7 separate regions of the Homo sapiens genome follow, and all the other regions are linked to region 1. Evidence: promoter capture Hi-C in 16 types of primary human blood cells and fetal thymus (Javierre and others, 2016). All regions are on one chromosome and are shown on one strand. Each heading gives the region's core, a stretch centred on a gene start or on the middle of the fragment in contact. The rest is flanking DNA. Distances are from core to core; before and after follow the strand shown. Region 1 holds the start of TAS2R8 (taste 2 receptor member 8). Region 2 holds the start of PRB4 (proline rich protein BstNI subfamily 4). Region 3 overlaps LOC107987435 (a long non-coding RNA gene). Region 4 overlaps LOC107987435 (a long non-coding RNA gene). Region 5 overlaps LOC107987435 (a long non-coding RNA gene). Region 6 overlaps SMIM10L1 (small integral membrane protein 10 like 1). Region 7 overlaps PRH1-TAS2R14 (PRH1-TAS2R14 readthrough).

The links. The method cuts DNA at HindIII sites, captures the fragments that hold promoters and counts their contacts. A CHiCAGO score of 5 or more calls a contact.
Region 2: a contact is called between the fragment with the promoter of PRB4 here and the fragment with the promoter of TAS2R8 in region 1, in 17 of 17 cell types (non-activated CD4 T cells, M1 macrophages, total CD8 T cells and 14 more). The highest score is 18.0, in non-activated CD4 T cells.
Region 3: a fragment that was not itself captured here is called in contact with the fragment with the promoter of TAS2R8 in region 1 in 4 of 17 cell types (M1 macrophages, M0 macrophages, erythroblasts and 1 more); the score reaches 8.0 in M1 macrophages.
Region 4: a contact is called between a fragment that was not itself captured here and the fragment with the promoter of TAS2R8 in region 1, in 8 of 17 cell types (erythroblasts, M0 macrophages, endothelial precursors and 5 more). The highest score is 10.2, in erythroblasts.
Region 5: a contact is called between a fragment that was not itself captured here and the fragment with the promoter of TAS2R8 in region 1, in 8 of 17 cell types (endothelial precursors, M0 macrophages, M2 macrophages and 5 more). The highest score is 8.8, in endothelial precursors.
Region 6: a fragment that was not itself captured here is called in contact with the fragment with the promoter of TAS2R8 in region 1 in 1 of 17 cell types (M1 macrophages); the score reaches 5.8 in M1 macrophages.
Region 7: a contact is called between a fragment that was not itself captured here and the fragment with the promoter of TAS2R8 in region 1, in 1 of 17 cell types (M2 macrophages). The highest score is 5.7, in M2 macrophages.

Annotation. Positions count from the first base shown.
Region 1 is chr12:10,805,616-10,808,727 of GRCh38, forward strand. TAS2R8 (taste 2 receptor member 8) reads right to left here and starts at 1,671. Exons shown (of 1, transcript NM_023918.3): 1 at 436-1,671. The coding sequence starts at 1,365. The coding sequence ends at 436. The HindIII fragment of the contact is 4,624 bases long and covers 1-3,112 here.
Region 2 is chr12:11,308,780-11,311,891 of GRCh38, forward strand. PRB4 (proline rich protein BstNI subfamily 4) reads right to left here and starts at 1,657. Exons shown (of 4, transcript NM_002723.6): 1 at 1,556-1,657; 2 at 591-626; 3 at 1-103. The coding sequence starts at 1,619. The HindIII fragment of the contact is 5,809 bases long and covers 1-2,243 here.
Region 3 is chr12:11,230,862-11,233,973 of GRCh38, forward strand. The region is part of intron 1 of LOC107987435 (a long non-coding RNA gene); the gene reads left to right. Among named protein-coding and RNA genes, the nearest start is that of PRB3, 37 kb to the right of the region's middle. The HindIII fragment of the contact is 976 bases long and covers 992-1,967 here.
Region 4 is chr12:11,209,516-11,212,627 of GRCh38, forward strand. All of the region lies in intron 1 of LOC107987435 (a long non-coding RNA gene), which reads left to right. Among named protein-coding and RNA genes, the nearest start is that of TAS2R42, 24 kb to the left of the region's middle. The HindIII fragment of the contact is 1,485 bases long and covers 672-2,156 here.
Region 5 is chr12:11,190,373-11,193,484 of GRCh38, forward strand. The region is part of intron 1 of LOC107987435 (a long non-coding RNA gene); the gene reads left to right. Among named protein-coding and RNA genes, the nearest start is that of TAS2R42, 5.0 kb to the left of the region's middle. The HindIII fragment of the contact is 1,028 bases long and covers 955-1,982 here.
Region 6 is chr12:11,173,410-11,176,521 of GRCh38, forward strand. It overlaps SMIM10L1 (small integral membrane protein 10 like 1), which reads left to right. Exons shown (of 1, transcript NM_001271592.2): 1 at 1-2,607. Among named protein-coding and RNA genes, the nearest start is that of PRH1-PRR4, 3.3 kb to the left of the region's middle. The HindIII fragment of the contact is 3,407 bases long and covers 1-3,112 here.
Region 7 is chr12:11,156,114-11,159,225 of GRCh38, forward strand. The region is part of intron 1 of PRH1-TAS2R14 (PRH1-TAS2R14 readthrough); the gene reads right to left. The region is part of intron 1 of PRH1-PRR4 (PRH1-PRR4 readthrough); the gene reads right to left. It also overlaps a transcript of PRH1 not described here and the pseudogene TAS2R18P. Among named protein-coding and RNA genes, the nearest start is that of SMIM10L1, 14 kb to the right of the region's middle. The HindIII fragment of the contact is 4,679 bases long and covers 1-3,112 here.

The DNA.
Region 1 (3,112 bases), core at 421-2,920:
ATCAATAAGCCAAATGGGGGTGACTCAGCAGAGCCATGAAAGGAGCACAATTAAGGAGCGGCAATAAAAATGTATGACAAAGAAAAATGAGAAACCAGTTACTGTAGCTCAGGTCCACTTTACCATGAGCCAAAGTAAAATCTAAAAAGACTTTAACTAGGCAATACAGGCCTAACACTTGCGTTGAGGAGACAAGAAGAGAAGCATGAGCTCTGAAATTCTTCGAGGAAAGGGAGTGTAAAGATGAGCATTTCTGAGTTGTAAAGGGATAGAAAAGATGTATTCAGTAGTTTGCTACTAGGTCCTAATAATATTTAAAGATATGCATCCAAAATAAATGAGATAACTGGGGAAAAATGAGAATAGACTATTAAGAAAACTATATTTTTTGTTAGAGAAGATTTGGTTTTAAATTCCATTTATACAGCTAAGATTTCATATCATGCAGGCAATTTTTCTACATGTCAGCATTCTGACAAATGTCTGCCTCAGTTTATTATTTAAAACAATTAAAATAAGTGAGTGACCCAAGGGGTAGAGAATTGCTGCAATCTCTCCAAACTCCACAGCTAACTTGTATTTTGTCATAAGATAGCTAAAGGTCATCAAAATAGAAGAAATATAGTATAGGAAAAAAAAGAAGATAAATGAAGTCATAGTTTTAATGGCTCTCACATGAACTTCTGTGCTGGGGTCTCTACTGCCGGTAGCATAGAGTTTTATTTGCTTGGTATGTCTCCATAAAGATCTTACTAAAAGGAAAAATGATATCAGTGACACAATAAATGGGACAATTGCAAACAGGTTAAAGAGAGTCAAGGGTTCAAAGTATGGTATTTTACTCACATGGAACATTTCAGTAATGTTTCTTTTATGTTTGGCAATTGCATGAAACCTATAATCACAACTCAGTACTATTGCTGCTATAAGGCTGACCAACAAGGAAATGGCAAAGCATCCCAGCAGGATCCAGTGCACCACCATATCAATTTTCCACTTCAGCCAGAGAAAAAGTGGATGAGAGGAACTGGCTATCTTCAGAAAATAGAAGACATTAAGGCAGGTGGTAATCCACATATTTAAGTAGTTGGCAAATGTCCAGAAGGTAAAAATGACTATCTGTTGTTTATTTTTTGTATAAACATCTGGGTTCAGTACTATTACAATGCCATTTACAACCATTACACTGATCAAACAAATTCTGGCGATAACTAAATTGGTAAGGATGTAGTCAACTGTGGAAATCTTTTTCTTCTTAATCCAGTCAATCCAGTTGACTAGTGCAATGTATCCATTCCCCAATATTCCTAGTATGAATTCTCCAGTTATTAGGATTATAAAGATGTTATCTGCAGGACTGAACATGTTTGTAGAGAGAACAATCTGATTTCAAATATCACTGTAGATGAGCTAATTTACAGGTGACCTGTTAAAGCATGATAGATCAATTCTTCGAATCATGCAATAATGTTTTCATCTGCTGTTATTTCGACGTTGTTATTCTTCCGGAAGTGTTCAGCTCTCCTCTGAAATAGGATTGTCTCTACACTCCTGAAGATGAAACCAACTAATGAGCAGCTTGACTAGTTATTTATAGCCTGGAAAAATTATAATTATTATCCTTTAGTGAGTGATACCTGAAATGTTTGGCTGAAATTGCTCCCATGCAAATTCAAAGAGATTTTATATCATGAATTTGCAACAGGCTTCTTGCTGTAGCTCTATATTTGGATCTTCAAATTGAGTTTTGAATAGGGAGTCATAAAAAAAGAGATAAATGTTTAATAAAAACCCAACTGTGTAAATAAAACTTCATTTTCATCATGTAAGTTATAAATAAGCCACAAATCAGTTCTCCCAGATGCAAAGAAATTTTCACTTTGGAAGTAATTAGTACAATTAGATTGTAGATATTTAACATTTAGTCAGAGGATAATAATTCTTGTCTTCATTTAAACGGCTAATTAGGGAAGGATATAATACAAATCTAATTAGAAATGACTTTTTTTTAGGCAGGCACATGATAATATTTACTAAGAATTTGCTTTCTTTTCAATTGTTCCTCAGAAGTGAAATATGCCAGGTAAAGATTTGTTATCTTTAGTTTTTTTTTAATGTGACAAATACCCTTGAAGACAATTCATTTCCTGAATCACTGTCTCTTGTATAATAAGCATTGTAATCTAAAATTAAGAAAATTTAAATTTTACATTATTCTAGTTCCAATCAACTCCTTTTATAAGATTTGTAATCTCACAGTGCATATTATAGTCATATTTCTAGATAGGGCAAACACATAAAAAAGTAACTACTTGGGAGACTGAGGCAGGGGGATCATTTGAACCGGGAGGCAGAGGTTGCAGTGAGCCAAGATCGTGCCACTGCACTCCAACCTGGGCGATACAGTGAGACTCTGTCTCAAAATAATAATAATAATTTTTTTTTTTTACATACCAGTATTTCCAAGGAATAGGACTAATTCTACTATTAAATTAGATTTATTTGTTTTGGGGTAAGGGAAAGTACAACTTAGCCCAAAATACATTTGAATGTAGGTAATACAAATCACAATACCCTAGGGCTTCTTGTATTTAAATAGTTCTACAATGTATACAACACATGCAGGATTTTTTCTATTTCTTACATGTGTGTAATGTGTAACAGGAAAGCATAAACTTAATAACTTAAAGAAACCTAGTTATCTATAAACTACTGCTGGAAACAAAATAGAAAAGAAAATGATGCAGAGGGAAAAAAATATGTCAGAGATTTCTGAGTTAGAAGGCTAGAGAGAACATTCCAGGGAATCTTTGGGAAATGACTTCTAAAATTGCCATCACCAGCTAGAGTACTCATGAACACGCTGACTACTGGGACCCTCAACCTTCTTTCTCAAGGTGGTTCTGCTATACATAACTGTGCCTCCTCTCTCTGTCAAACTTTCATTCTTGAGATTATACTCCTTTTCCCACATCATATATCATCTTAGATAGAATCTCATTAAAGATTGTTTTTCTCCCTTCTTGATCAAGACAAACCCTTCCAGAAATGGAGAGGAAAGGGCGGTGAAGATAAGGACCGGCCTTCATTTCAAAGTAGAGAGTTGTTTTGC
Region 2 (3,112 bases), core at 407-2,906, 500 kb after region 1:
GACTGGTTTCCTCCTTGTGGGGGTGGTCCTTGTGGCTTTCCTGGAGGAGGTGGGGGACGTTGGGGCTGGTTTCCTCCTTGTGGGCGTCGTCCTTCTGGCTTTCCTGGAGGAGGTGGGGGACATACGGCATTCACTGAATAGTTGCCACAAATTTTTACAGTAATGGAGCTAAATGGGGAAATGCACAAAAATGAGACCCAGATACTAATTTCTTTGCATTTTCAGTGAAGCCCTAGAACTCTGGAGTGGAACGCTGGGGGAAAAGGGAGAAGTTGAGGGGCTCTCAGTCTAAGGAGGAGTCAGAATAAGGACACTGGCCATTTGTCTGTCATCTCCCAGGAGGCACTCCTGGCCAGGGGGATGTCAACCCACTCCTGTTGTCATCTAAGCCAAGCATCTCTGACATTCCATTTGGTGGCCTGCTCATGGTCCCCAGAATCAAGTTTGCATGAAGATTGCCTATATCATTAGGGGCAATAACATTAATCAATTCCTGAAAGGAAAGTGTTGATAAGAAGACACTGGAGAAATGATCCATTTGTAAGCAGAAAAAGGGAGTCAAAACAGATTGAGAATGAATTGGGATTTACCTGATATTAGGAAGAGAGATTCTTCCTGGCTGACATCTAGAAGAGAAGCACAGGATGATGGGAAATGTTACATCTCAAATCTTCAAGACTCACAAGTGTTCTACAGGGAAAATTGTCTTCTCACCACACCCCATGCATCCCCTAGGTTAACTCATCAGCCACCATCTGTGAAGGTGCTGGAAGGGGTGGAAGGTGTAAGAGGAGGCAGGGTTGTTACCACACAGAGCAACAGCAATGAGTTCAACATAGAACAGCCCCTTTTTTTCCTCCCTAGCATCCCTCAAGACTTAATGCTTATTTAGTTTATGCATGCCAGGTACTTCAATGTGATATTTTGGTGTTCTTATGCCCTCCATCTCCTGTTAATATATTGCATACATACACATGTTTTCTCAATAGGGGTAACCAGAAGTAATCATTTCAATACAATCTAACCCATTCCACTCCCAGCACATTGAAATACTGCATGTAGGGGAGAGAAAAATTGTAATGATTGGCTCTGATATTTCTACATCTTTAGTTAGACAGAGACAAGTGTTCTATCCAGTTCTGTCTCTGCAGTATCTCTGATGTGTATGTATCTCTATCATCAATGCCGACTGTCTGTACAGCAAGGCCACCATCATCCCTGTGTACTTACTGGGATCAGTATAGGATCTTCACAGCTGGACTTCCCTGAATCTGCCTTGCACTCTCCACTGCAGCCTTCACAGCACAGTTCTATCTCTATAAATTCAAATCTTACCTTCTCATTCCCCTGGAACAAATTCGTTATTGGATTTCATTGTACATTAAATAAATTAGAAGTCCTTATTGTGGAATGAGGGCACAACAGGTCTCCTGATCCTAGGCATGAAAACTCTGCAGCCCCATCTGTGTTTTCATTCTCCTCTCTTCCCCATAATTACCACTGTCACCTCCTAAGTCCCAAGCAGTCACCGCATCTTTTCCCCCTTCTGTTTTACCTTCACTTGAACTCTCAGCTGAGCTCAGGGCCAGCAGGGCCACTGACAGCAGAATCAGCAGCATCTCGCTGGAGGCTCTGGAGTCACTCCCAACTCTGTGCTGGGAGGAACGTGGCAACTCCCTTTATAAAGAGGAGCAAAACAATGGCACCTTTGAGCCCTGGGTGGGCCTCACCACCTCAGAGACTGGGTTCTGCTTTCCTTACTGCAGGTCAGGTGTATCCCTTATTTCTCTTTGGGACTCTAGCCCAGAGGGATGGGGTGGGTTGGATGTTGTTTGTGCCTTATTTCTAAAAGGTACGACTATGACTTGAATAAAGGTTCTAAAGGAACTGTGTCCAAGCTATCAGCACTGTGTCATAATTGAACTTCAGACATCATTAGAGTTTCAATCCTTTTGGTAAGACTATGTCTGCTTTCCACTCTACTATTTATTTCTGTGTAATATTTGTGGGGGCAGTGAAGCTACAGCCAGCAGTGAAGATGGTCAATTTCTCTGGCTCTTTATAGAGCCTATTTCCATCTCTTGTGATGTGTGTGTACAGATAGTATCACAATTGGCTAAAGTTTTGATGCGATAGAGATGGTTTCTGTTACCTGTGTGATGGTGTGAAGACAACACACTCCTGGGCACACATAGATGACAGAAAGCTGCCCCACAGCCTGCTCGGGCTACAACTATTGTTCAAGCTTCTGTGGATCTGACTCAGCTCAGGCAAGGCTTGTTGTTGTGCCACACAGGAAGGCCAAAATTGTGTATTTTAAAGTACCTTTAGGGGTTATTAATGCAAAATGTACACAGAAACCATAAGGAAATTTCTAGATCTGAGAAAACTGAATACATAATTCCTTGCGGGAGCCATGCGATATCATGTTGCCAAAACTTCCTTCATGCTCTTCCCTTTGTCCAGAATATTCTATAATATTCACCCTCTGCTTCATTTCTTTTAATAATTGTATTGAATTCCTACCACTTATAATTAAGTGGCTACAATTCTACATTCAAATAGGATAATCAGATACCCTCGTTAAAGCCTAAATTGCATTATATTGGTATTCTTGGTTTAGTCAGTATTTGTGTTACCTGTTTTCTCAGATTGTTCTTCCACAAAGAGTATTTTTCTATAATATTCTGATATGCATTCCTCCCCACCTTCTTTCTGGTTCTTCTTTGTTCATATTTTATTTTCTGAGTCAAGCCCATTATGTGTATTTTTCTTTATGTATCTGGCTTTTTTCCCCATGAATTTGGTGAGATTTCCTTTATTTAATCTTCTAAGTATTAGGATATAGTACTTACCATCTTTGTTTCATTCTTGTCTGTGTAATTTCATAATACGTGTTGTGTTTCCAAAAAGCCCTATCAGAGACCTGCATTGTTAGCACTTCTTTCAGCTACTGATTCTTCGTTATATCTGATAAATACCTGCTTATCAGTTCATGGAATATACAGGTTACTCAGTATCAACAGCTGCCATTTACCACTTAGACCTTCCATGTGTCTTGTGTAATTGTTCACATTTTGTGCATGGCTGGTATTAATTTGAGAACACCTTG
Region 3 (3,112 bases), core at 230-2,729, 430 kb after region 1:
TAATTACCTTTGCTTTGGATAAATTCCTAGTAGTGTGTTCTCTTTATCTTGAGCTTCTTATTTCACATCCTCACCCAATTCTGACAATCCTGGTATTTGAGCTCATTATGTAGACTCCTACTTGTGTTTCACTTTATAGTTCAGATGTGACAATTAGCTCCACATTTTTAGCTATAATGTGGACTGCTCTTATTGACCACAATCCTAATTTTTCTTCTGTCCAGGGTGTTCCAAGATGAAAAAAAAAAAAAAACAGAGGGAGACAAAAGTTAACTCTTGTCCAAGATCTGAGCTTAACTGTAAGTTTTAAAGAATACTTAGAAAGCACGGGTTCCCTGGCACAGATAAAAGTATCCTGGATTCAGGGGTAGAAAAAAAAAGATCTAAGAGGAATTCAACAGAGATAGATGCTTTATAGGTCTCTGAGAAGGGCCCTCTACAACCTGTCTCCCACCCCTAAAACCTACAGCAGATTTGAAGCACACAGGAGGGAGTAACAGAACCTCAAATAAATTTGGAAAAAGGAAAGTAAAAGACAATTGTGTCTGGCCTGGTGAAGCCTGAGGAGGCAGCAAGCCTGGTTAAAGAAAACTTTCTGTCCAGCAGGATAATCTACACAATAGATTAGAAATGACAGGATATGCTCAGTACTTTGGTTGTGGTGATGTTATCACAGGTGGATCCCTAGGGCCAAACTCATCAAGATATATATATACATATTAAATGTGTCCAACTTTTATACACCAATGATACCTCAATAAAGCTTTCAAAAGAATAAAAGAAAGAACTAACTGCATAAAGATGCTTAGACAAATGGTCACTGTCTACCCTGGCATGGTACAGTCAAGGGCAAAATACTTTCTCAGGTTACCAGAATAGGTATGAATATGGTCTGATGGCTGAGCCAGAGAGACGGGTAGTCCTTTGGACAGAGGGACACAGTAGTGGATGTCAGAGGGGACTAAGAACTAGAGCCAAGTAGAAGCTCAAAAGCTTCGGCCAGTGCCAGTGTCAGAGCAACCAGTGGAGACCTGCATGGATAAAGGTGCAGCAGCAGATGACTAACAACCAGGCCCACCCCAGCCCCACTAATGCTTGATAGAATTGTATGCTACCTCAGGAAGAAGGCAGGATGGACGTAGGAGTGGGAGGGCTCTGAAATTACTGGGTTTACCTTGAGTTGACTAGACTTTAACATAATACAGCAAGAAAAATTGACTAAGATCAGATAAAGAAAAGAAAGTGATATTTTTCCACACACTTGGACTCATGGTCTTTGGATTTCATATCCACTGAATAATCAAACAAATAATGGCAACAGGTAAGGTAGAGGTGGACAGGGGGCTGAGGAACCACAGAACAGTGAGATCTAGGAGGTATTGCAGGGCAGGCAGAAGAGTGGACACAGACTGGAAGGACAGATTTTAAACAATAAAATTAATGGAAAGATTTTCATATTGGATGAACGGAATATACAAAGTATTGAAGTTGAGACAAAGCACAGAGCCCTTGAAGAATAGAAAGATTTTTTTAATGTGGGTGGAACATGGAGTGAGATGACGGAGTGGTGAGAGATAGATTCAAGTATTAAACCAGAGTTTTGAATTCTAAAGCCTTTACAACCAACTTCCAGTTTCCAGGAAATACAGGGGATGGAGTGTGAAGTTAACTGACACACACACAAATAAACACCAAGCAAATCTAGAATGTGTGATAGTTCTGAGGACATGTCATCCACTTAATCAGTAAGTTCATTGCATGGGAAGAAAGGAGGGTGAATGTCCTTTGCCGAATATAAAACATAACAACTAAGTGTAGGGAAGGTTCCAGGTTTGGGGGAGACTAAAGTTGATGTAATTTCAATTGTTCTGTTTAAGAAAAATAATACAAAATTAGGAACAGAAATTTGCTAAGGCCCTTGCAGGGTCATGGAAAGGGCCTTTGCAAATGAAAGAATCCAAAAGTTAAGCTTCAATTGCTGTGTAGAAAATTCAAAACTGATCAAATGCAACATGTCAACCTTGTGTGGATCCTAATTTAAATAATTTGCATTCATTCTACAAAAGTGTAAAGACATTTCTGAGACAATCAGGAAAAAAGTATAAACTGAATTAAGCTGGAAAACAGAAATATTTAGTGGAAATTTAAGAGAAATCAAAAACCTTTCTGTATCTTATCATAAACTTGAGTTCTGCGCATGTCTGTATAATGGAAGGGACAAAGGATATTCCTGTCTATCCAGAGGGTTATTTTAGTAGTCCTAAAGCCTCTTCACTGGTAGGCTTGAAACTATAGGGGTTTGTTATAGGAAACTACATGTGCTAGAATATTAAAATAGAATGCAGTGTTCACTTAAAATTGTTTCCAGGGTTCAAAAAATAGGTTGAGTTTACTCATCAACCTTCTGAAAAATAACCGTATGATTATGAACTCATGGTCATGTTATATTTAATGCAGCTAGTAAAAAATGGTCTGCACAGATTCTTCTGCTAAAATTAGGAACACAGGTAACAGCAATCTGTGTTGTAAAGCAACTTGAATAAATTTTAAAAGAAAGAGATAAGCGAAGGAACCATTTACAGAAGCTCTTTAAAGCTATGTTAAGGAATTTCTCTTCAACCTAAGGATATTGGAATGCTATCAAAGAGTATGAAGCCAGTGTATTAGGCCATTTTCCATTTCTACAAAGGAATACCTGAGACTGGGTAAAGATGTTTATTTGATTCACAGTTCTGCAGGCTGTACAAGCATGGTACTAGCGTCTGCTCAGCTTCTGGGGAGGCCTCTGGAAGCTTTTATTCATGGCAGAAGGCTAAGGGCGAACAGGCGTGTCACATGGCAAAAGAGAGAGGAGGAGGTGCCAGGCTCTGTTTAACAATCAGATCTCATGTTAATAACTGAAGGAACTCATTCTTGCCTCGAGGACAGCATCAAGCCATTAATGAGGGATCCACCCTCATAACACAAACACCTCCCACCAGGCCCCACCTCCAACATTGGGGATCACATTTCAGAGTGAGATTTGCAGGGGACGCACATCTAAACCATATCAGCTGGGAAGTAACATGATGAACACTGCACATTAGAAATAGGACTCGTGTTGTTATTTAGA
Region 4 (3,112 bases), core at 164-2,663, 400 kb after region 1:
TCTCTGAACCTTAGCTTCTTCCCTTACGATAAATAAATGCATTTAGTACTTAACAGCTTACTAGTGGCTTTTATGGGCAGTTTTCTTAAAATGGAGCATAAAATTCTTAGGTCACAAAATTACATATTAAGAAACATAGATTATGTAAAAATGATTGTAAACTTTTAAACTATGTACAAATATTAGTTATATTAACAGTCATTAACACCCAGGTCCAAGACCAGGAATTAAGTAATAATTATTTCTATCTTCTGTGAGATCATTGGAGCAGAAGTGGTTACAAATTGATACCTTGCATTTAAAGATTAAGAACCTATCAGATAAAACAAAACATCCTATTGGACTCCTTACTTTCCCATCATCAAAAGCCAGAAGACTAGTACAGACAGACTGCTAATCACTATTTGGGCTCATAAGTAAAACATAAAGAGTAACATGAAATAATCCTGTGTTTTTTTTTTACTCTATTAAAATGACAGCAAATTCTTAGGCAAACTCTACAGTTTCCATTCGTTGAAATTAGAAGAACCTGCTTGGAAGTAATGCAAAACTTGGGTTTCTAAGTGAAGAAGCACATATGAGCCAAAAAGCTAAGGGGACATTTAGAACTTGGTAAGAAATCTCTGTGGCTCTAGTGAGAGACCTTCATGGCCTTACTACAAGGCCACTGAAGCTTTAGTGTGAGAACTTTATGATCTTTACAAGGAAGGTTTCTAAGGTCCTGGTGTGAGGTCCTCTGTTACTGATGTGAGACCACTGTGGCTGGCATTACCTTGACTCACTGAAACTTAGCTTTGCATTTCAAAGCTCTTGGAAAAGGTATATAATGTTAGAGAACTAGCACTTCAGTCCCATTAAAACCCACAACAAGAGTACCATTTCAGATGGATGAAATGATTTTTACCTCCTGTAATATTTCTCAGGGAAGACCACAAGCCAAGACTATAAGAAGAAGCAAAGACCTAGAATAGCCACCATAATACTGAAGAAGAAAAAAGTTGAAAGGTTGGAATGATCAAAATCCAGAACACTGACAACACCAAACACTGGTGAGGATGTGGAGCAACAAGAACTTTCCTTCATTGCTGGTGGAAATGCAAAATGGTACAGCCACTTTGGAAGACAGTTTGGTGATTTCATTTACAAAACTAAACGTACCGTTACCATATGATCTAGCAATCACACTCCTTGGTATTTATGCAAAGGAATTAAAAACTTATGCCCACACAAAAATCTGCACATGAATGTTTGTTTATATATCCTTGTCAAAACTTGGAAGCAGCCAAGATGTTCTTTAGTAGGTGAATGGATGAATAAACTGCAGTACATTCATACAATGGAATACTATTCAGTGCTAAGAAGAAATGCACTATCAAGCCATGAAAAAACATGGAGTAAATCTAAATGCCTATTGCTAAGTAAAACAGGCCAATCTGAAAAGGCTGTATGATTCCAACTCTATGACATTCTGGAAAGGTTATAACAATAAAGACTATAAAAAGATCAGTGGTTGCCAGGGGTTAGGGAAAAGGAAGAATGAACAGTTAAAGCCAAAAGGATTTTTAAGGCAATGAAAATACTCTGCACGATACTATAATGGTGGCTATATGTCATTATAAGTTTGTTCAAATCCATAGAATGTACAACATGAAGAGCATATCCTAATGTAAACTGTGGATTCTGGGGGATAATGATGTTTTAATGTAGGTTCATCAAATGTAACAAATATACCACTCTGTTAGGAGATATGGACAATGAAGGAGGCTATGCATGTGTGAAGACAGGGAATCTATGGAAAATCTCTGTACTTTCATCTCAATTTTGCTAGGGACCTAAAACTGCTTTAAAAAATAAAGTCTTTATTACAAAAATATTTTTAAATAGGCAAAAAGATCTAAGGAGACACCTCAACCAGAGAAGATATACAGATGGCAAATAAACATGAAAAAGTGTTCCACGTTGTATGTTATTACGGACTGAAAATTAAAACAACAATAAGATATCACTATATGCCTATTAGAATGACTAAAATGAAAAAAAATCTGACAATACTAATTACTGGCAAGGATGCAGATAAACAGGAACTGTCATGTATTGCTGGTGGGAATGCAAAATGATAGGATCACTTTGGAAGACAGTTTGGTAGTTTCTTACAAAGCTTAACCTAGTTTTACTATGTAATTCATCACGTGCACTCCTAGCTATCCACTCAAGTGATTTAAAAACTTATGTTTCTGCAAAAACCTACATGCACAAGTTTATAGCAGCTTTATTTATAATCATCGAAAACCAGAAGCAATCAAGATGTCCTTCAACAGGCAAATGAATTTTAAAAAACTGTTGTGTACACATACAGTAGAATATTATTCACTGAGAAAAAGAAAGAAGCTATTGATCTATGAAGGAACATGGATGAATCTTAAATGCATGTTGTAAGTGAAAAGAAGCCAGTATAGAAAGGGTACATATGCTATGATTCTAATTATATGATGTTCCACCATGATTGCTAGATCATATGGTAACAGTAAGTTTAGTTTTATAAAAAAATCACCAAACTGTCTTCCAAAGTGGCTGTACCATGTTGCATTTCCACCAACAATGAAGGAGAGTTCTTGTTGCTCCACATCCTCACCAGCGTTTTGTGTTGTCAGTGTTCTGGATTTTGGTCATTCCAATCTTTCGACTTTTATTCTTGCTCAGTATTATATTGACTATTCTAGGTCTTTGGTTCTCCTTATAAATTAATAATCAACTTGTAAATATTTGCAAAATGTTTGCAAAACTCTATAAAGAAGATTAAAAATAGAAGGTTAGTGGTTTCCTGGAGGGAGGGAGAGAGGAGGGTTGAATAGGTGAAGCACTAGGGATTTTTTAGGGTGGTGAAAATATCCTGTACAATATTGTAATTGTGGCCAAATGACACTTTGCCAAAACGCATTGAACTTTGCAGTTCAAAGAGTGAAAATCCATATAAATTTTAAAAATCATTTAAGAGTTTGGGAGAATGTCAGGATGAAATGCAAAATGTGACAATATAATTTCTTTATTATTTATTTATTTTTATTTTTATTTTTATTTTATTTTACCTTTTAAATTTTTTATTATTATACTT
Region 5 (3,112 bases), core at 219-2,718, 380 kb after region 1:
ATCATATACAACTTCAGGGATTATCTTAGTTTGTTTGTACTGCTGTAACAGACTATCACAAACTGGGTAATTTATAAGAAAAGAAACTGATTTCTCACAGTTTGAGAGGATGGGAAGTTCAATATCAATGTGTTAGCCTCTGGCAGAGGCCTTCTTGCTGCATCATCCCATGGCAGAACGTCAAAGAGAGGGAGACAGAGACAGAGTAAACTCACACTTTTAAAAGAAACCAACTCATGTGATAAACCCACTCCTGTGATAACAGCATGGATCCATCCATGAGGGTAATGCCCTCACGACCTAACACCTTTTAAAGGTCCCACCTCCCAATACCTCCAGGTCTCCAACAAGTGAACTTTGTGGGACACATTCAAATCATAGCATTTCACCCCTGGGCCCCCAAAGGTATGTCCTTCACACATGCAAAATTCATTTCCTCCCTTCCAGTAGCCCCCACATTGTAACTCATTCTAGCACCAACTTAAAAATCCAAACTCCAGAGTCTCATCCAAGTCAGATATGGATAAGACTCAAGGCACAATTCATCCTGAGGCAAATTCTCCAGCCATGAGCCTGTGGAATCAAAACAAGTTACCCACTTCCGAAATTCAGTGGTGGGACAGACATATGAAAGACATTTCCATTCCTGGGAAAAATAGGCAAGAAAAGAGGGGCAATTGGCCTTAAGTAAGTCCAAAACCCAGCAGGGCAAACCATATTAAATCCTAAGGGTTGAGAATAATCTTTGACTCCATGTCCCACCTTCTAGACCCACTGGGTCAGGGATTGGGCCCCCAATTTCCCAGGCAGCCTCACCTCCACAGCTTTGCTTGTCTCAGTTCACTCCTGAGCAGCTCTCACAGGTTGGAGTTTTGTGCCTATAGATCTCCCAGACTGGTTTTGTGAGGCAGCACAGGGCAGTGAATGCTGAGGTCTTTCAGGCACCTCTCTGGAAGCTTTGACCTTAAGGTCCTAACTTGCGTAACTTCTGGTCCTAACTCCATGATCTCGGAAATATCTTCCAGGTCATTCTCCCTTTGTCTTATGAATAGAACTTGGCTTCCTTCTAGCCAGATTAATATTTTCAGCAAATGACCACTTGGCCAAACCCTTCTTATTCTCTCTCGAACATGCTTTTTTATTCTTTATATGGCCAGGCTGAGAGTTCTCCAAATTTTTCTATTAGTCTTCACTTTTCATTATAAATTCCATCTTTAAATCATTTCTCTCTCCTCAACATTTTACTATATGTGCTTGAAAGAAGCCATGGAGCCCACTGAATGTTTTGCTGCTGAGATGTCTCTTCCATCAGATATCGTAGTTCACCTCTCTTAAATTCTGCCTTCCATAAAGCCAAAGGGCATGAACAGAATTCTGCCAAGTTTTTTTGCCACTTCATAACAAGGATGATCCTTACTCCAGTTTCCAATAAGACATTTCTCTTTTCCACCTGAGACCTCATCAGAATGGCGTTTACTCTCTATATGTCTACCAACATTCTCATCAGGACCATAAAAGTAATCTCTAAGAAGTTGCAGACTTTCCCTACAGTTATCCTCGCCTGAGACCTCAGTGGAATCACTCTTAATACAAAATTTGTGGCAATCTAGGCTTTTTCTAGCCTGCTCCTCCCATACCAATTTCCTGTCTTAGCCTGCTTTGTGCTGCTCTAACAAAATACCACAAACTGGGAAAATTATAAAGAAAGAAATTTATTCCTCAATTCTGGAGTCTGGGAAGTCCAATATAAAGGTGCCAGCATGTGGTAAGGGATTTCTTACTGTGTCATCTTATGGGAGAAGGGCAAAAAGAGAGAGAGAGAACGAGAATGGGGCTTAACTTGTCCTTGTATAAGGAATCAGCTCCTGTAATAACAAACCCACTACTCAATAATTGTGTTAAGCCATTTATGAGGGTTGTGCCTTCATGACCTAAACACTTCTTAAAGTTTCCACCTCCAAAAACCTCCACACTGGGGATCAAGCTTCTAACACATGAACTTTGGGGGACATATTCAAACCATAGCAGCCATGTATTTTACTAATTATAAAAAACAATAGTAACAACAACAATAATAAAAGGTATCATTTCTAGAACTCTTACTATATGCCTGGCTCTGGATAAAATGATTGACTTGCATTTGTGCATATATTAACTTAAGAAAATGCATGACAACCAATGAGCATATGAAAAGAAGCTCAATATCCCTGATCATTCAAGAAAAATTAATCAAAACCACAATGAGATATCATTGCACACCAGTCAGAATGACTATTATTAAAAAGTCGAAAAATAACAAATGCCAGTGAGGTTGTGGAGAAAAAGAAGTGCTTATACCCTATTGGTGGGAATGTAAAGTAGTTCAGCCATTGTGGAAGAAAATGTGGCAGTTCCTCAAAGATCTAAAGCCAGAACTACCATTCGACCCAGCAATCCCATTACTGGGTATATACCCAGAGGAATATAAATCATTCTGTTATAAAGACACATACATGCAAATGTTCATTGCAGTACTGTTCATAATAGCAAAGACATGGAATCAACCCAAATGCCCATCAATGATAGACTGGTAAGGAAAATGTGGTACATATACACCATGAAATACTATGCAGCCATAAAAAAGAATAAGATCATGTCCTTTTCAGGGATACGGATGGAGCTGGAGGCCATTATCTTTAGCAAACTAATACAGAAACTGAAAACCAAATACTGCCTGTTCTCACTTATAAGTGGGAGCTAAATTATGAGAACACGTGGACTCATAGAGGGGAACACCACACACTGAAGCCTCTTGGAGGGTGGAGGGTGGGAGGATGAAGAGGATCAGAAAAATAACTATTAGGTACTAGGCTTAATTCCTGGGTGATAAAATAATCTGTACAACAAACCCCCACAACACAAGCTTACTTATGAAACAAATCTGTGTTTGTACCCCTGAACTTAAAACGTGATTTCTGGGTGTGTCTGTGATGCTGTCTGAAAGAGATTAGCATTTAAATTGGTTGACTGAGAAAAGAAGATCATCCTCAACAATGTAGGTGGGTTTCCATTCATCTCTGGCCCTACTGCTGGGTCTGAGGACCATTCTTGGGACAGATGTAATTTAAAGCTG
Region 6 (3,112 bases), core at 390-2,889, 370 kb after region 1:
TCTTTTAATCCATAAGGCCATTTTCATAGGTTGCCTTATTTTTCCCTAATCGTGCATCAACTGTCTGTTTTATATACCCAAGACAGGTTTCCTAGACTGCGATAAGCCAAAACATTTTAGTCTAAAATATCAGAAGTGTAGTTTAATCAATGAAATAGTAATACCAAGGGATTTAGAATCGTGGACATCACTGTTTCCCAGAGCACTGATGTCCCAATTTGTAACACAAAAGACTGTCTAGTCTTAATCCTGAAATGGTGACAGAGTAGGATGCTCCATTTGGGTGACTATGTGAACATATTCCTATAACTTTTTTCCTCACATCAGTCATTTGTTAAACCGAAGATGAAGAAACAGACTTTGTATTTATTACATCCTCCAACATAATTGGCAGCTCTGTGAGGGAAGACACTATATCCTATTCAATTTTACACCCGGTAGTAACAGTATGTGTGTGTACTGTATATATACATATATATATACATACACATATATAAATTTAAGTAGTAACTATATATGTATATATGTATAGTTACTACTTACTATATATGTATACAGTATATAAGTATATATGTATAGTTACTACTTACAATATATGCATAAAGTTACAGCTTACATTTACCTCGTAATATATGTATATATATATATTAGGAGTTAAATGTATTAGGAGGTAAATGTAAACTCTGTGGTTTATCATTTATTCACAATTGCTCTTAATTCTTGGGGTATAGTTTGCCTCCTACATGATGCAATTCAGTGAAATTCCCAGGAGACAAAACAAGATTTTGACCTGAATAAACCACTTATTGTTGTAATTCACAAGTGAGTTTATTCTTCCTGGCACACTTCCAGGTAATATCCATTAGGCTAAGGATTTTGTTTGTTCACTGTTCTATCCCCAAGCCTAGAGCACTGCCCAGTGCGGAATAGCTAATAAATATTGTTGAATGGATAGATGAATGGCAATTTTGTTGGTATGCTCTACATAGTCAGCAGTCAATAAAGGAAACATATATTCGTTCCTGATAATAAGATGATTCACTTTATTGCCCATAAATTGGGCTTTTTCAGGCCATCATGCACGTTGATTGATCCAGAGATCCCTCAAGCATGAAAAAGCAGAGACATAGGTGGTATAGTTATTATCAATAGAGATAAGAAATGTAGCTGGCAAAAAAAAAAATGGGAAACGATGCGTTACAGCTTATTTTAACTATAAAAGGAAAACAGTGAACATAGCAACATATGTAACCTAAGGGATAGGGGAAAAGTTGTTTTTTTTTTTTTAATTCTGGGTAAAAATACATGTGATTACTTGACAAATAGCATATCATTACCATCAGCATCATTTTTAAAATATATTGAGTTTTTAATACCAGGAACTATGAAAAACTATTTATATACATGAGCTCCGTAATTCTCACATATACCCTGTGAGGAAAACATTTTTATCATTTTTCAGAGAAGCAAACCGGGATTTAGAGAGGTTAAGTAAATTCCTAAGGTCATGATAACCAACCAGACCTCAAATGAATCTCCAGTAATTCCTAAAGTTATATTTCATAAGGAGTTCAATTTTCTTAAATGTGTAGATAATTACAAATAATTCTGTTTCTCAAATTTCTGGACAGAAATATTACCTGGGTAATAGTTATTTTTTTTAACATAACTATTGAGGGTCTTTCATACTAAAATATAAATATTTAACATGATTTGATATGTAAGTTCAAGTATTTTATACTCTCTGCAGCCTTAAACCTATTGGCTTATTTTATTAGAGGGTTGGTGGGATTGAGGGATATGGGAGCAAAGGGAGAGAGAGGAAAGAACGTTGTCCTCAGAATGGAAGGGAAACACTTTCCTGTGCTACCCAGAGTAGAGATCAGACAATGTTAAATTTTGAAGCCATGTCTGTTCCTGTCCTGAGGATCCCTAACTAAATTTTGTTAGAAAATCTTGCAGTTTGCTTTTAATGGGAGATCTTTCTGGCAGGACATCAATAGCTTTTGATAGCGTCAAGAAGAAAATAAAGTTACATGCAGAAGCATAAAGGGGTAGGATGAAAGTTGAGGAATATAGGGACAAAAGATGAGGGAAAGGAATATCCTAATACTTGGAAGTTTGAGCATGGAAAGTAGTCTAAAGACGACTTGGGAAGTTCCAAGAAAATGAACCAAGAAAAGAACCTCTGCAAGAACTATGAGAATTCCCAACAATTGGGTTGGATTGATTCATATTAGTCTATTACTTGGGTTACCTTGAGTGTGGGGATTCTTCTTGCAGTTTTAACACTTGTACTATGGTCTGAATGTGCCCCCCAAAAATTCACATGTTGGCATTTAACCCCCAAAGTGATGATCTCAGGAGATGGGACCTTTGGGAGGTGATCAGGTCATAAAGATGAAACCCTCGTGAATGGGATTAGTGCCTTTATAAAGGAGACCCCAAAATAATTCCCTTACCCCTTTTGCCATGTAAGGTTATAGGGAAAAGTCATCTATGAACAAGGAAATGAACCCTCACCAGATACCAAATTTGTGAATGCCTGGATCTTGGACTTCCCAGCTTCTAGAACTATAAGAAATAAATTTCTGTTGTTCATAAGCACCCATTTTATGGTATTTTTTATAGCAGCCTGAACAAACTAGACTTAATAGGATTTGCTCAGCAGGATTACCACCAGGTCAAGTCATGAGATCTTTTCAAAATATAAGTAAACCTCCCCTTACCCCTACTCTCCACAAATACAAATTTCAGCAGTGCTCTTGGGACAACTAAAAGGCCCAAGGACCTTCCCAAAAGCCTACTACAAATGAAGAAACTATGGAAGTCTTAGTAGCTTAATTGCAGGACATCCCTGCCAGTTTCTATCCTGATTAGGGATCTGCAATGAACATTACAAAATCTTCACCATCTCCATGGCTTTCAACACCAAGCATATGGACTTAGCCACTGTAAAATAGTGGCATGCATCAATGAACAATAAAGAGAAATGGAGATCATTCATATTATTAGTGAGGGAAGTTGGGTACAACTTTTCATCAGCCAAAAAGAGGGAGAAAAAAATCACACCACCAAATAATGAAATACTGTAACTAAGATCATTGGCAGA
Region 7 (3,112 bases), core at 211-2,710, 350 kb after region 1:
CTATCTGAAAATGTATCCTTTTGAATTTCTGTTTATGAAATGTCTGCTACTCCTTTGAAACGCACTGAAAATATATTACATTGAATTCTAGCTTCCATGCTTTCTGCTGAAAATCAGTTGTCATTCAAACAGTTGATCCTTTCAACATAATCTATCTTTTTTCTCAGGCTACTTTTCAAATTTTCTATTGGTCTTTGGTTTCCTGTAGCATTTATATGTTAATTTGTTTTCAGTTATCTTGTCTGAGGTTTGTTGGTTTCTCGAATGTATGGATTGATACATTTTATTATTTTTGGAAAGGTCTCAGCAACATTACTTCTTCCCTACATTCTCTCTTCTAATCTTCCAGAACTCCAAAAGTATGTTAAGCCTTTCTGACTGTAGCCTCAATGCTCTTCCCCTTTAGCCTGTATTTTTCCATCTCTTTGTCTAATTATGCTTCACTCTGTGTAGTTATCTTCCAATTCACTAATTCTTTATTCTACCATTTCTAACTGATTGTTAAATCTAATTGATTGTTAAATATTGAATTCTTAATATTAATTTTTTCAGTCATTATTTTGGTGGTAGAAAGAAACTTTCACTCTATTTCTGTAAGTTATTTCTATGGATAAATAAAATACTCATAATACCAAATTCTTAAAGATTTTTTAAAAACTTTTAGTAAACTTGACAAGAAAATACCAATAATTCTCTTCTTTTACCCACACTTTGGTCAAAGAAAACACCAATTTTTTTTTTTTTTTTTTTTAGACGCAGGCTTGCTCTGTCACCCAGGCTGGAGTGCAGTGGCGCGATCTTGGCTCACTGCAAGCTCTGCCTCCTGGGTTCACACCAGTCTCCTGCCTCAGCCTCCCGAGTAGCTGGGTCTATAGGCACCCGCCACCATGCCCGGCTAATTTTTTTGTATTTTTAGTAGAGATGGGGTTTCACCATGTTAGCCAGGATGGTCTCGATCTCCTGACCTCGTGATCTGCCTGCCGCAGCCTCCCAAAGTGCTGGGATTACCCACACTTTGGTCAAGAATAGAATAAAAGTGTGAGTCTAATCATTCTTAACCAAGTTGAAAAGAACTAAAAATAAATTTGATGCAAGTAGCAGCTTCTCTGTTGCTGCATCTTCACCACAGACTCTTATTACATGAAAATTCAAGGAGCAGAACTTGATCTCAAAATGCCATTACCATAAATAAAAGATAATACATCAATCACAGCAACACCATCTTATAACATGGCTTAATATTTAAGTAGTCCTTTTACTCTCCTTACACTGTTAGACATGGGGCTTTGTGCCTTACAAGTCCATCATCAAGAGAGTATGATATTGAAGATGTGAGGGCTTATTTCTGTTTGGTTCATTGACTTTTAAAGCCTCTCTTTTGAAATAAGAGTTTAATTATAAAATGGTTTATTGACTTTATCTCTCTTATTATACAAATGCTATTTACACTAAAAACTAAATATTTCTGGTAGTTAGCCTCTGATGAGTTTAAGATTATTTATAAATCATTTGTTCAAGCAATGCATTTTAAGTAAAAATACACTCAACTTCTAACTCTAAATGTATTAAGTTTCACATAAGCCTTGCTCTTTAATAATGCAACTTACCCACAATAATAATCTTTAGGAAATTACCTAGACATTCTCCAAATCGTGCATGTAAACATTTAAAAAACAAATAGTTAAATGAAATATATGATGATGATAGTGGTGGTGGTGGTGATGATGATATTAATAGCTAAATGAGAGAACCCTACCTGATAAATGTGATAGATGTGACCTCACTCTAATTTCCTGAATGGAAGAGTTCATTTTGTCTGGAGAAAACAACAATTCTTCCCTATGGCCTTATCATTCTTACACCATTCTCTGCATCAGGGCTTAACCTGGAAGAATATTTTCACCTACTACTTCATGAAGACTAATATAAAACCAACATACTTCCCATGATTTACCAGCTATTTTTTCCCTTTATTCCATTTTTAAAATTATGGTAAAAGTTACCTCAAACAACAGTGCTGGGTTTTTTTTCTTTCATATGGACATATCCATTTCCTCTATTAAAATAATACATGATCTTCATTTCATATTTTAGTAACATCATTTGCAAGCAAAATTCTCTTAACTGCTTCATTACATTCCCAGCTACTGTGATTACATCTGGGTTATTTTATTACAGTAGTCAAAGTAGCACTACACATCCACAAACATATCCAAGCATTACACTGATATATATTATGCTTTAACAAACTTACTTAATTATACTTAACATTTTATAATTTTTTCCCTACTGTATTTATAATTTTTTGTTCAAAAAATTACATTACACTTTTTTCTGTGATTTTATATATATTTATTCATATTGCCTTGTATATCATATGTGCATTTATTTATATTCCATTATAAATGTTTATCTTTTTCTCCAAGTCTCACATACTCTATTGTTATTAGCAGGCATTATTATAGTAGAGACATTTCCTTGAATCAGACATTATGTCCGGCAACTTTGAGAAAATATGGTTAGTGAATATTTTAAGGAAAATTTCAGAATTATTTAACAACACTTAAAAGGACTCCAAAAAAGAAATTGTTAAATATAAAATTAACTTATGAGGTCTTCTATTAAGTTATTTCTTTCATAGATGCAGAAAGTTAAATTTTGTCTATGAAGTTAAAGGTTTTGCTTTTTTCAGAGAGAATTTAAGATGCCACAGTAGTCTCAAGGAGCTCTGTCTTAGCTTGTTGTTTCCCAAAATTATAATAAATGAGTGGCCTGAGGGAAAGGCAAGTAAAATCATCATAATAAACGTCATGACCTGATAATTCTCTACCTCAAGGAAGATCCAATCTCCTATTAAAGTGGAAATAAAGTTAATAAAAAAAAGGAGGAGGAAGGCTATCACCATTTTCATGGCCCTTTTATGGGCCTCTGTGCTGGAGTCCCTTGAGCCCAGAGAGTTGAGCTGCAAATTCTTGGTGTGTCTCACTAAGGATATAAATAAAAGGAGCAAAGAGGTCAGAGTCAGAAGAAAGGGAATAACGTATGTCAAGCTGAGAAGCCTAAGGCCTTGAAGACAGACTATTTTACTTGTATCTGAGTGCAAAGTCATGTT